2 separate regions of the Homo sapiens genome follow, and region 1 is linked to region 2. The links are contacts of gene promoters, found by promoter capture Hi-C in human tissues and cell types (Jung and others, 2019). All regions are on one chromosome and are shown on one strand. Each heading gives the region's core, a stretch centred on a gene start or on the middle of the fragment in contact. The rest is flanking DNA. Distances are from core to core; before and after follow the strand shown.

Region 1 (6,160 bases), core at 1,722-4,221, 150 kb before region 2:
CTGTTTGATAGCATTTCACCCCACAGTAGAACTTCTTTCAAATATGCCACTTCTTTATTAACTAAATGTATGTAATATTCTAAATTATTTGTTGTCATTTCAACAGTGATCACTGGCCGGGTTACAGTGGCTCATATCTGTAATCCCAGCACTTTGCAGAAGCTGAGGCAATCAGATTGCTTGAGCTCAGGAGTTCAAGACCAGCCTGGGCAACACTGTGAAACCCTGTCTCTACAAAAAATACAAAAATTAGCCGGGCATGGTGGCATGTGCCTGTAATCCCAGCTACTCAGGAGGCTGAGGCAAGAGAATCGCTTGAACCTGGGAGGTGGAGGTTGCAGTGAGTTGAGATCACACCACTGCACTCCAGCTTGGTCAACAGAGCAAGACTCCATCTCAAAACAAAACAAACAATGTTCACAGCATCTTCACCAGGAGTAGACTTTGTCTCAAGAAACCACGTTTTTTTTTTTCCTTTCTCAAGACCGAGTTTTGCTCTGTCACCCAGGCTGGAGTGCAGTGGCGCAATCTCAGCTCACTGCAACCCCCACCTCCTGGGTTCAGGTGATTCTCCTGCCTCAGCCTCCTGAGTAGCTGGGATTACAGGCGCCCACCACCACGCTGGGCTAATTTTTGTATTTTTAGTAGAGATAGGTTTTCGCCATTTTGGCCAGGCTGGTCTCGAACTACTGACATCAAGTGACCTGCCCACCTTGGCCTCCCAAAGTGCTGGTGTTACAGGTGTGAGCCACCACGCCTGGCCAAGAAACCTCTTTCTTTACTCTTCCGTAAGAAACATCTCCTATCTATTCAAGTTTTATCATGAGGTTGCAGCAATTCAGTCACATGTTCAGGCTTTACTTCTAATTCTAGTTATCTTGCTATTTTCTACCACATCTGCAGTGACTTCTCACTGAAGTCTTGAACTCCTCAATGTCTTCCATGAGGGTTGGAATCAACTTCTCCCAAACTCCTATGAATCCTGATATTCTGACCTCCTTCCATGAATCATGAATGTTCTTTAATGGCATCTAGAATGGTGAATCTTTTCCAAAGGGTTTCAATTTACTTTCCCCGAATCCATCAGGGGAATCACTATTTATGGCAGCTATAGCCTTACAAAATGTATTCTTTAAATAATAAGACTTGAAAGTTGAAATTACTCCCTGATCCATGGGCTGTCTGAATGTTGTGTTAGCAGGTATGAAAACAACATTCATCTCCTTGTACATGTCTATCCGAGCTCTTGGGTGACAAGGTGCATTGTCAATGAGCACTAATATTTTGAAAACAATCTTTTGTCTGAGCAGCAGTTCTCAACAGTGGGCTTAAAATATTCAGTAAACCAAATGTGTAAACAGATATGCTGTCATCTAGGCTTTGTTGTTCCATTTGTAAAGTACAGACACAGTAGATTTAACACAATTCTTAAGGGGCTTAGGATTTTCAGAATGGTAAATGACCATTGGCTTCAACTTAAGGTCACCAGCTGCATCAACCCCTAACAAGAGAGTCAACCTGTCCTTTGAAGCTTCGAAGCCAGACATTGACTTCTCCTCTCTAGCTATAAAAGTCCTAGATGGCATCTTGTTCCAATATAAAACTGCTTCATCTACATTGGATATTTGTTGTTTAGTGTAGCCATCTTCACCAATGATCTTAGATCTGGGTAACTTGCTGCAGCTTCTACAAAAGTACATGCTGCTTCACCTTGCACTTTTATGTTATGGAGATGACTTCTTTCCTTTACCTCATGAATCCACCAGTGCTAGCTTCAAACTCTTTCCTGAAGCTTCCTCACCTTTCTTAGTCTTCATAGAATTGAAGACAGTTAGAGCCTTGCTCTTGATTAGGCTTTGGCTTAAGGGAATATTGTGACCGGTTTGATCTACCCAGACCACTCAAACTTCCTACGTATCAGCAATAAAGCTATTTTGCTTTTTTAGCATTTGTGTGTTCACTGAAGTAGCACTTTTATTTATTTATTTGCTATTATTTTTTGAGACAGAATCTCATTCTGTTGCCCGGGCTGATGTGCAGTGGTGTGATCATAGCTAACTGCAACCTCAAACTTCTGGGCTCAAGCGATCCTCCTGCCTCAGTACCTGGGACTACAGGCTCATGCCTGTATCTGAGTACAGGACTACAGGCTGTACTCAATCCTAAGTACCTGGGACTACAGGCTCATGCCACCACATCTGGCTAATTTTTATTTTCTATTTTTTGTAGAGATAAGATCTCATTATGTGCCCAAGCTAGTCTTGAACTCCTGGGCTAAGTTATCCTCCTGCCTTGGCCTCCCAAAGCACTGAGATTACAGGTATGTGCCACCATGCTTGGCCTGGAGTACTACTTTTAATTTCTTTCAAGAACTTTTCTTTTGCAATCACAACTTGGCTAACTGCTGGGAGCAAGACGCCTGGCTTTCAGGCTGTCTTGGCCTTCAACAAGCCTTCCTCACTAAGCTTAATCATTCTCACTACTTGTGTTCAAAATTGTATGAAAGTTCTAGCTTTTGGTTTAAAGTGAGAGATGTGGGACTCTTCCTTTCACTTGAGCACTCAGAGGCCATTGCAGGGTTATTAATTGGCCTAATTTCAATATTGCTGTGTCTCAGGGGATAGGAAGGTCCAAAAAGAGGGAGAGAGAGCAGCAGTCCCCACCTTTTTGGCACCAGGGACCAGTTTCATGGAGATAATTTTTCCATGGACTGGGGGATGGGGAAGTAGTTCCGGGATGATTCAAGCACATTACATTTATTGTGCACATTATTTCTATTATTACATTGTAATACGTAATGAAATATTTTTACAACTCACCATAACATACCATAGTGGGAGCCCTGAACTTGCTTTCCTGCAGCTAGGTAGTCCCATCTGGGAGTGATGAAAGACAGTGACAGATCATCAGGCATTAGATTCTCGTAAGGAGCACACAACCTAGATCCCTCACATGTGCAGTTCACAACAGGGTTCACACACCTACGAAAATCTAATGCCGCTGCTGATCTGACAGGAGGCGGAGCTCGGGAAGTAATGTGAGCAATGGGGAGTGGCTATAAATACGATACAGATGAAGCTTTGCTGGCTCACCTGCCTCTTACCTCCTGCTGTGCAGCCCGGTTCCTAACAGGCCATGGACTGGTACTAGTCTGTGACCCAGGTGTTGGGGAACCCTGATATAGGGGAATGGCCAATCCATGACGCAGTCAGAACACACGTATTGATCAATAACTTTGCTGTCCTATGTGGGCACAGTCCATGGCACCCCAAAACAATTACATAGTAACATCAAACATCACTAAATACAGATCACCATAACAGATATAACAATAATGCTAAGGTTTGAAGTATTGTGAGAATTACCAAAACGTGACACCGTGACAAAAAGTGAGTACATGCTATTGGAAAAATGGTGCTGATAGACTTGTGTGATGCAGGGATGCCACAAACTTTCAACTTATTTAAAAAAAAAAAAAACTATTTGCAAAGCACAATAAAGCAAAGTACAATAAAACAATGTATGCCTGTGTTATACCAAGATTAATTTCCTGGTTTTAATGACTGTACTATGGTTATATAAGAAGGTAGCATTAGATGAAGCTGATTGAAAGGTATATGGGAATTCTCGGAACTTTTTTCTAAGTCTGAAATTAGATAAAAATAAAAGGTTTTTTGGTTTTGTTTTTCTGAGACAGGGTCACTCTGTCGCCTAGGCTGGAGTGCAGTGGCATAATCTCGGCTCACTGTAACCTCCACCACCTGGATTCAAGCAACTCTCCCACCTCAGCTTCCTGTGTAGCTGAGACTACAGGCACACACCACCAAGCCCAGCTAATTTTTTTTTTTTTTTCGTATTTTAAGTAGAGATGGGGTTTCACCATGTTGGCCAGGCTGGTCTCCAACTCCTGACCTCCAGTGATCCACCTGCCTCGGCCTTCCAAAGTGCTGGGATTACAGGCATGAATCACCACATACAGCCAAAAATAATTCTTTTTTTTTTAAGGTGGCCAGGGGCAGTGGCTGACGCTTGTAATCTCAGCACTTTGGAAGGCTGAGGCGGGCAGATCACGTGGTCAGGAGTTTTGAGACCAGCCTGGCCAACAACATAGTGACGCCCCGTCTCTACCAAAAAAATACAAAAATTATTTGGGCATGGTGGCAGGCGCCCATAAGCCCAGCTACTCGGGAGGCTGAGGCAGGAGAATCGCTTGAACCCGGGAAGCGGAGGTTGCAGTGAGCCAAGATTGTGCCACTGCACTCCAGCCTGGGCGACAGAGCGAGAATCCGTCCTAAAAAAAAAGGTGTGCATCTACAAATGTCAGTAGAGAATTTGGTGTAAAAATATTGAATACAGAATGTCAATATTAAAGCCAATAGTTATTTCATATTTTTTCAGTTTTTAAAAGTATTGTCTTATGTTTTAGTAAGAGAACATATCTGAACTCCCAAAATAAGAGAATGGAACTAAGAAATTAGCTAAAACCGCTGTCAACCTGGCGTGACAGTGGACACTCAGCTTTTTCCCTTCAGGAGCAGCAGTCTTTTCCCCTGAGGAGCTGGACACAGTGAGGAGCTTGACATAGTGAGGGGAAGCAGGGAGAACAGACTATACTAAAATAATCTAGCCAGCCACCAAATAAACAGAGGAAGGGGACAGTATACAGAGTTACTACAATGTATTGTGTCCGGAAATGGTTCCTGCCGGTGGGTTCTTGGTCTCGCTGACTTCAAAAATGAAGCTGCGGACCCTCTCGGTGAGTGTTACAGTTCTTAAAGACAGTGTGTTCAGAGCTTGTTCCTTCAGATGTTCGGATGTGTCGGGAGTTTCCTCCTTCTGGTGGGTTCGTGGTCTCGCTAACTTCAGGAGTGAAGCTGCAGACCTTCGCTGTGAGTATTACAGCTCTTTAAAGGTGGCACGTCGGGAGTCGTTCCTTCCTCCAGGTGAGTTCATGGTCTCACTGACTTAAGGAGTGAAACTGCAGACCTTCACCCTGTTACAGCTCTCAAAGGTGGCAGGTCCAGAATGGTTGGTTTCTCCCACTGGGTTTGTGGTCTCGCTAGCTTCAACAGTAAAGCTGCAGACCTTCATGCTGAGTGCTACAGCTCATAAAGGTAGTGCGGACCCTAAGAGCAAACAGCAGCAAGATTTATTAGGAAAAGCAGAAAAACAAACCATCCACAGTGACCCCAGGGGGTTGCAGCCCCTGTGCAGGTGGCCTGCTTTTATTCCCTTATTTGGCCCCACCCACATCCTGCTGATTGGTCCACTTTACAGAGAGCTGATTGGTCCATTTTACAGAGTGCTGATTGGTCCGCTTTGACAGAGTGCTGATTGGTGCATTTACAAACCTTTAGCTAGACCCAGAGTGCTGATTGGTGCATTTACAATCCTTTAGCTAGACAGAAAAGTTCTCCAAGTCCCCACTCAACCCGGAAGCCCAGCTGGCTTAACATCTCAGTATTACTAAAATGTTACTGACAAAAACAATTATAGAACATACAAAGAAACAAGAAAGTGTGATTCACTCTAGAAAACAAACAACAAACAAAAAAATACAGGCAACAGATACTGCATGTGAGAGCAAGCAGACTTCAGATTTAACAAACAAATCCTTCAAAGTATAATACTTGTTATAGATATGTTGGAACAAACTAAAGGAAACCATGATTAAAGAAGTAAAGGGGCCAGGTGTGGTGGCTCACGCCTGTAACACCAGCACTTTGGGAGGCCAAGGAGGGTGGCTCATTTGAGATCAGGAGTTCAAGACAAGCCTGGCCAACATGGGGAAATACCGCCTCTACTAAAAATACAAAAATTAGCTGGGCGGTAGTGGCGTGCACCTGTAATCCCAGCTACTCAGGATACTGAGGCAGGAGAATCGGTTGAGCCTGGCAGGCCAAGGTTGCAATGAGCCAAGTTCACGCCACTGCACTCCAGCCTGGGCAGGCAACAGTGTGAGACTCTGTGTCAAAAATAAAAAAATAAAAATAAAAATAAATAAAAAGCCAAGAAGAAGAAGTAAAGGAGACTGGGCCCTGTGGCGCTTGCCTGTAATCCCAGCACTTTGGGAGTTCGAGGTGGATGGATCATTTGAGGTCAGAAGTTTGAGACCAGCCTGGCCAACATGGTGAAACCCCATCTCCACTAAAAATACAAA
Region 2 (5,511 bases), core at 2,674-5,173:
CTCCTCCTTTGCTAACAAAGGGTGTTTATTAGCTAGGATGGCAATGAAAAATTTAATACAACGTAGTTTATAGCAGTGGACTGTGTCTTTGGCTCCTCATCTGGATGTGTAGCTCTGGCTCCTCATGGATAAGCTGTATAAAGCCTTATTAGATTCAAATACTAACCGTCGCTATGCCATATTAAAAAAAATCATTATAGCTATAAGCTGTATTTCTTATATAAGTGGGGTTAAATTGGTTGACTTAAAGATTTCCCCCTTTGCTACCAGTGCTAAAAAATTGTCTTAACCAAAATTAGGAATGTGCTAATTTAACAATTTACACTACAGGCCTGCTTCCTGGCAATGTGCTGTCAATTCAAGAAAAGAAAGAAGGAAAGCTACTTCACGATGAGAAATCAAACCTCACCCCCACTTCTCGCTCTCTCTTTTCTTCCTTTTTTTTTTTTTCCTCTGAGCAATGGTCCCCAGGAAACAAACCCACAAACCGCTGTCAAGTTTGATTCCTCTTTCTGGAGTTACAGCCTTCCTGCTCCTCCGTGATGGCTCAGCTGAAGTACCACCTCTGCTACTCGTTTTCAAAATACATGTTGAGTCTTAGGACCAGGAGGACGATTGAGGTTTTTTTTCCTTGTCATCTTTCTTTTCTTTTTCTTTCTTTCTTTTTTTGGTGGTGGGTGGGGCCAAACTAAGAGGGAGACAGCAGGTCTGGGCCATCCCTCTTCTGACCCTCTGGGGCCATCTTCCTTCTGGCAATTCTCTTCCCCCATCTGTTTTCCTCTTGTTTTTGTTTTTTAAAAAAGAAGGAAAAACAATCAAAGAAAGGAAAAGAAACGAAACAAAACAAAATTACATGAAACATCTCTATGGCAAGGCCAGTATGGTAGAAAATTATGGTAAAAAATTATAGGAGTGCATTGATTCATATGAGCATTTCATGTTTCTACACAGGTCTCAAATTATGGAAGAAATACATTGTTTAGGCAAGAGATGGTGGCATGAGAAGCTTCCTCTTTAATTTTTAAATTATACAAAGTTTGCTTCTTCGTTTGGCAAAGGAGGGGCTCTGTTTTGGTCTTATTTGATCAATAATTTTTCACTCCTCACACATTTCAGAAAATGTTCACTGATGTTCATTTTGCTCCAGGTGCTAAGGAGGGAGCTCTGGGGGCAGCTGAGGGCTTAGGCATTCCCGGTGGGGCTGCCAGGCTCTTCCTCAGCCTAGGAAACGCTCCCATCTCAGGACAGCACCCTGGCCCCCAAGACGGCTTCATCCTTTTGGAGAGGTACTTCTGCAGCTTCCTAGGGCCATCAGCACATGTGTCCAGCTGGGTTGATTTAAGGGCTTTTTCCAGGGTGATTTTCCCATGGATTCCAATGAGCAAAACCAGAGGAGCTGGGGAGGTCCATGTAGTGTATTTTTAAATTTCTCCATCTTTATGATCCAGGCATAGTTATGCAGGTTGGACACCGAGGTGTTTTTTTAAATTGCTTATCGAAGTATAATTTAAACAGTGAAATCGTGCATAGATCTTAAATGGCATTTATAAGTTTTGACAAATGTACATACACGGCAATCTATTTTTATTTCACCACCCCAGAAGGTTCCTTCATGCCCTTTCCCAGTCAATACCTCCTCATCCCCAAGGGTACTTTTCCTCTCCCCATAGCTTAGTTCTCTGTTCTAGAATTTCCTGGAAATGGAATCACACAGTATGAACTCTTTTGTGTTTGGCTTCTCTCTCCCAACACGATGTTTTTGAGTCATCAGGTTGTTGCCTGTACCAGGTTAAATAGGATATCACTAACAGCGAGATAGTGTTAAGAAGGGGACAATTTTTACCCCGTTGGCCTCCAGGCCAGATACTACCTATATCCTGGTAAGTGGCCCTCCTTGCCCTTCCAAGTGAGTCTCTCTCCAGGGCCATGCAAGTTCCTCTCCCAGAACCGCTCAGGCGGCCTCGGGCACCACCCAGATGGCTGCGGGGCCATCACCAGGTCGCCTCCCCAGAACAGCTGCCCCCTGCTTCCCCCCAGCCCCATTAAAACTCAAAAGGGAACTCTGGCCCCTCTGCCGATCAGAATTCAGACTCGCTTAATTCCATGCATCCAACTGCACACCACCGTGTGATGTTTTGGTGATCAGATATGCAGAGTTCTTTAAAAAACGTAAAAAGAAAAAAAGAAAAGGTGGGTAAAAACCGAGATCTCCCGGGCAGTGGATATGTCTCGGTTGAGCCAGGGATTCAGAATGAAATCTTTTCTTTTCTTTTTTAAATAAACGGAAGAGTCGTTCTCTGCTCCTCGCTCAGAAGGTTTCAAAGGTCGTCACACTGAAGCCCGGGGGCGTTCATCTCCCCAGCGGCCGGGAGAAGGGAGGAGGTTGGAGGGCGGAGGGAGGGAGCACACAAAAGCGGGCCGTGCTGAGAGGGCTAATGTTTCCTGTTTGCCTGGAGCCCCCTCCCCTGCCTCCCCTCCCCCAGCCCCCTCCCAGCACTCGGGCGGAAGTGAGTTTGCTCCTTTGGAGATTAAAAGGATTCCGAATTCCGATCAGTCCCAATAACCGGCGTACTGAAGAGAAGAGGAGGAGGAGGAGGAGGCAGAGGCGGCAAAGCAGAGAAAGAGGGGGCGCGCGCGCGCGCACGCAACCCGAACTGGGGGAGTTGTGCAAAGCCCCAGGAGGCCGGGGCACGGCGGGAGCAAAGCTCGGTAGGCGCAGCGCGGCCGAGGCCACCCGCGTCCGGATCGGCGACTCCTTTCAGAAAGAAGATGACGCGGGCGCGAGCCGGCGGCGTTGGCCACGCGGCTCCCGAGCTCGCCGCGCGGGGCTGTTGCCGGTTCCACTGATTCCAGCGCGCCCGAGAGGAGCCTCCATCCCCGAGGCTCGGGATCGGAGGGGGGACCAAGGCGAGGGCGAAATGGCCCGATGACAAAGGAAATGTGATCCCCCTTCTCTGCCAAGGTTTCAGAGAGGACGGACGTGAGGAGGAGGAGGGGCGCAGGGCGCGCGCGGAGCTCGGATAGCATTGCACGACGGCCCGCGCGGAGCGGGTACATCTAATATCTTCCTGCCGATGAATAATTCAGGGCGGCCCGCGGGGACCTGCGGCCCCGCGCGCTAAGCCGAAGGGGAAGGAGCGTGCGTGAGGCGCCCAGGCCAGGCGAGGCGGGGGCACGAGGGCTCCGGGCCGCGTGGGGCGCGCGTGCGTGTTAAGCGCGGGCAGCCGCGGCCCGGCTGGGCAGGCGCGCGGAAGACTCGAGGCGCGTGGGACGCGCGTGCGTACTGCACGCGTGCGGCCGCGGCTGGGCCACCACGAGCTGCAGCTGCTGCGGGGCCCACCGCCCTGCAGGGGAGGCCGTGCCTGGCTGTGCGCAAGCCCCAAGCGCAGCACGCCGGGCCACCCAGGAGCCCCTGGCCGCCGCGTCATGCGGCGGGGCAGCCGACGTCGCGCGGGGAGACACCGGCTTGGCGACGCACCGCTCCCGCCTTTACTAGTTTGGGGCTCCTTCCCCTCCCAAGAACAGACTAAATCCGTTTAAAGAAAAGCAACGCACCAAATACTCGTGGAACCAAATTCTGCTCTCGCCGGGACTGGGACTGCACAGCGAACTCTCCTTTTGGGAACTCCTTTCGTCTATCGCGAAGGGAAGCCTCAGCTGCTCCAGGGAGTCTTCCGACCTCCCTGCCCCCGCTCGCCCCTCGCCTGTCGGGGCTTGTTCCGGCGTTCCCTCTTCGGAAGGCACGCGGCCCCCAAGTTATCCGGAGGAATCTGTGTCGCCGCTGGATAGTGGCATTTAATGCCTGCAGTGTCGGGGGTGGCAGCGCTCGGGCCGGACGTGGCGAGGCCAAGCGGGCAGCGCTGCTCTGGTGCCGGCTCCCGGATTGCAGGCCTAATCGATGCATTTTTCTGAGTGAGTCGGTGACTCCCCCACCCACCTCGTCCGCTCTCTCCTCCTCCTCCTCCTCTTCCTCTCTGGTCTCCTCCCTCCTCCGGGCTGGGTTGCAAATGGCTTCGTTCCCCGAGACCGATTTCCAGATCTGCTTGCTGTGCAAGGAGATGTGCGGCTCGCCGGCGCCGCTCTCCTCCAACTCGTCCGCGTCGTCGTCCTCCTCGCAGACGTCCACGTCGTCGGGGGGCGGCGGCGGGGGCCCTGGGGCGGCGGCGCGCCGCCTACACGTCCTGCCCTGCCTGCACGCCTTCTGCCGCCCCTGCCTCGAGGCGCACCGGCTGCCGGCGGCGGGCGGCGGCGCGGCGGGAGAGCCGCTCAAGCTGCGCTGCCCCGTGTGCGACCAGAAAGTAGTGCTAGCCGAGGCGGCGGGTATGGACGCGCTGCCTTCGTCCGCCTTCCTGCTTAGCAACCTGCTCGACGCGGTGGTGGCCACTGCCGACGAGCCGCCGCCCAAGAACGGGCGCGCCGGCGCTCCGGCGGGAGCGGGCGGCCACAGCAACCACCGGCACCACGCTCACCACGCGCACCCGCGCGCGTCCGCCTCCGCGCCGCCACTCCCGCAGGCGCCGCAGCCGCCCGCGCCTTCCCGCTCGGCACCCGGCGGCCCTGCCGCTTCCCCGTCGGCGCTGCTGCTCCGCCGTCCTCACGGCTGCAGCTCGTGCGATGAGGGCAACGCAGCTTCTTCGCGCTGCCTCGACTGCCAGGAGCACCTGTGCGACAACTGCGTCCGAGCGCACCAGCGCGTGCGCCTCACCAAGGACCACTACATCGAGCGCGGCCCGCCGGGTCCCGGTGCCGCAGCAGCGGCGCAGCAGCTCGGGCTCGGGCCGCCCTTTCCCGGCCCGCCCTTCTCCATCCTCTCAGTGTTTCCCGAGCGCCTCGGCTTCTGCCAGCACCACGACGACGAGGTGAGTGCGTGGGGGCGTGTGTTTGTGTCCATCGGATAACTGCGTGTGTGCTCAACAGCGTTTCCCGGCCGGTCCCACAGCGAGGGGAGGAGGCCCTCTCCGGATTTGGTTTGTATTTCCTTTGGCTACGTGGCAGTCCTTGCTACCAAAGTAGATCATGACCTGGGAAGTATGTGGAAGTGGATTCTGTGTACGTGTCGCGAGGGGCTCCGAAAAATCCCATAGCGTGGGGTCCTCCCTTTTCTGATTTTAATTTCTGTGTGGCAAAACGCGGCAATCGTCTTGAGTTAGGCGTGAGTTGGGAGGAGATAGGTGTGTGTGTTTGTGTAGACGTGGCCTGCTCCTGCTCTTGTGGGCACACCAGAGGCCTCCCAACGTGCTGAGAAGGCGCTCCTTTATTTTCAGATTTTTGTTTGGAAAACTCATAGATTGTTGCCTTTAAAATGGGGCGTGAGCCCGGAAGAGATGGTTGTGTGGGTGAGTGCGTGGAGTTTGTGTGCCTCCGTAGACCTGGTTTCCACGTGCGCACTTGTGAGGGGAAGACTGGTTTTTTTGTTGTTGGGACAGCATGGCAGTCCTTGCCTCCTTATGTTGGGTAAGAGTGGGAGCGTCTGTGGATCTTTGAGGGCCAAGGGCCCCCAGTCTTAAGCCC

What was found. The method cuts DNA at HindIII sites, captures the fragments that hold promoters and counts their contacts. A contact is called where the count stands out against the background at its distance.
Region 1: a fragment that was not itself captured here is called in contact with the fragment with the promoter of TRIM71 in region 2 in 1 of the 25 tissues and cell types used here (adrenal gland).

The regions. Positions count from the first base shown.
Region 1 is chr3:32,668,668-32,674,827 of GRCh38, forward strand. No RefSeq gene overlaps it. Among named protein-coding and RNA genes, the nearest start is that of CNOT10, 13 kb to the right of the region's middle. The HindIII fragment of the contact is 4,468 bases long and covers 738-5,205 here.
Region 2 is chr3:32,814,074-32,819,584 of GRCh38, forward strand. TRIM71 (tripartite motif containing 71) reads left to right here and starts at 3,924. Exons shown (of 4, transcript NM_001039111.3): 1 at 3,924-4,859. The coding sequence starts at 4,008. RefSeq lists an enhancer at 4,384-4,965. The HindIII fragment of the contact is 18,479 bases long and covers 1-5,511 here.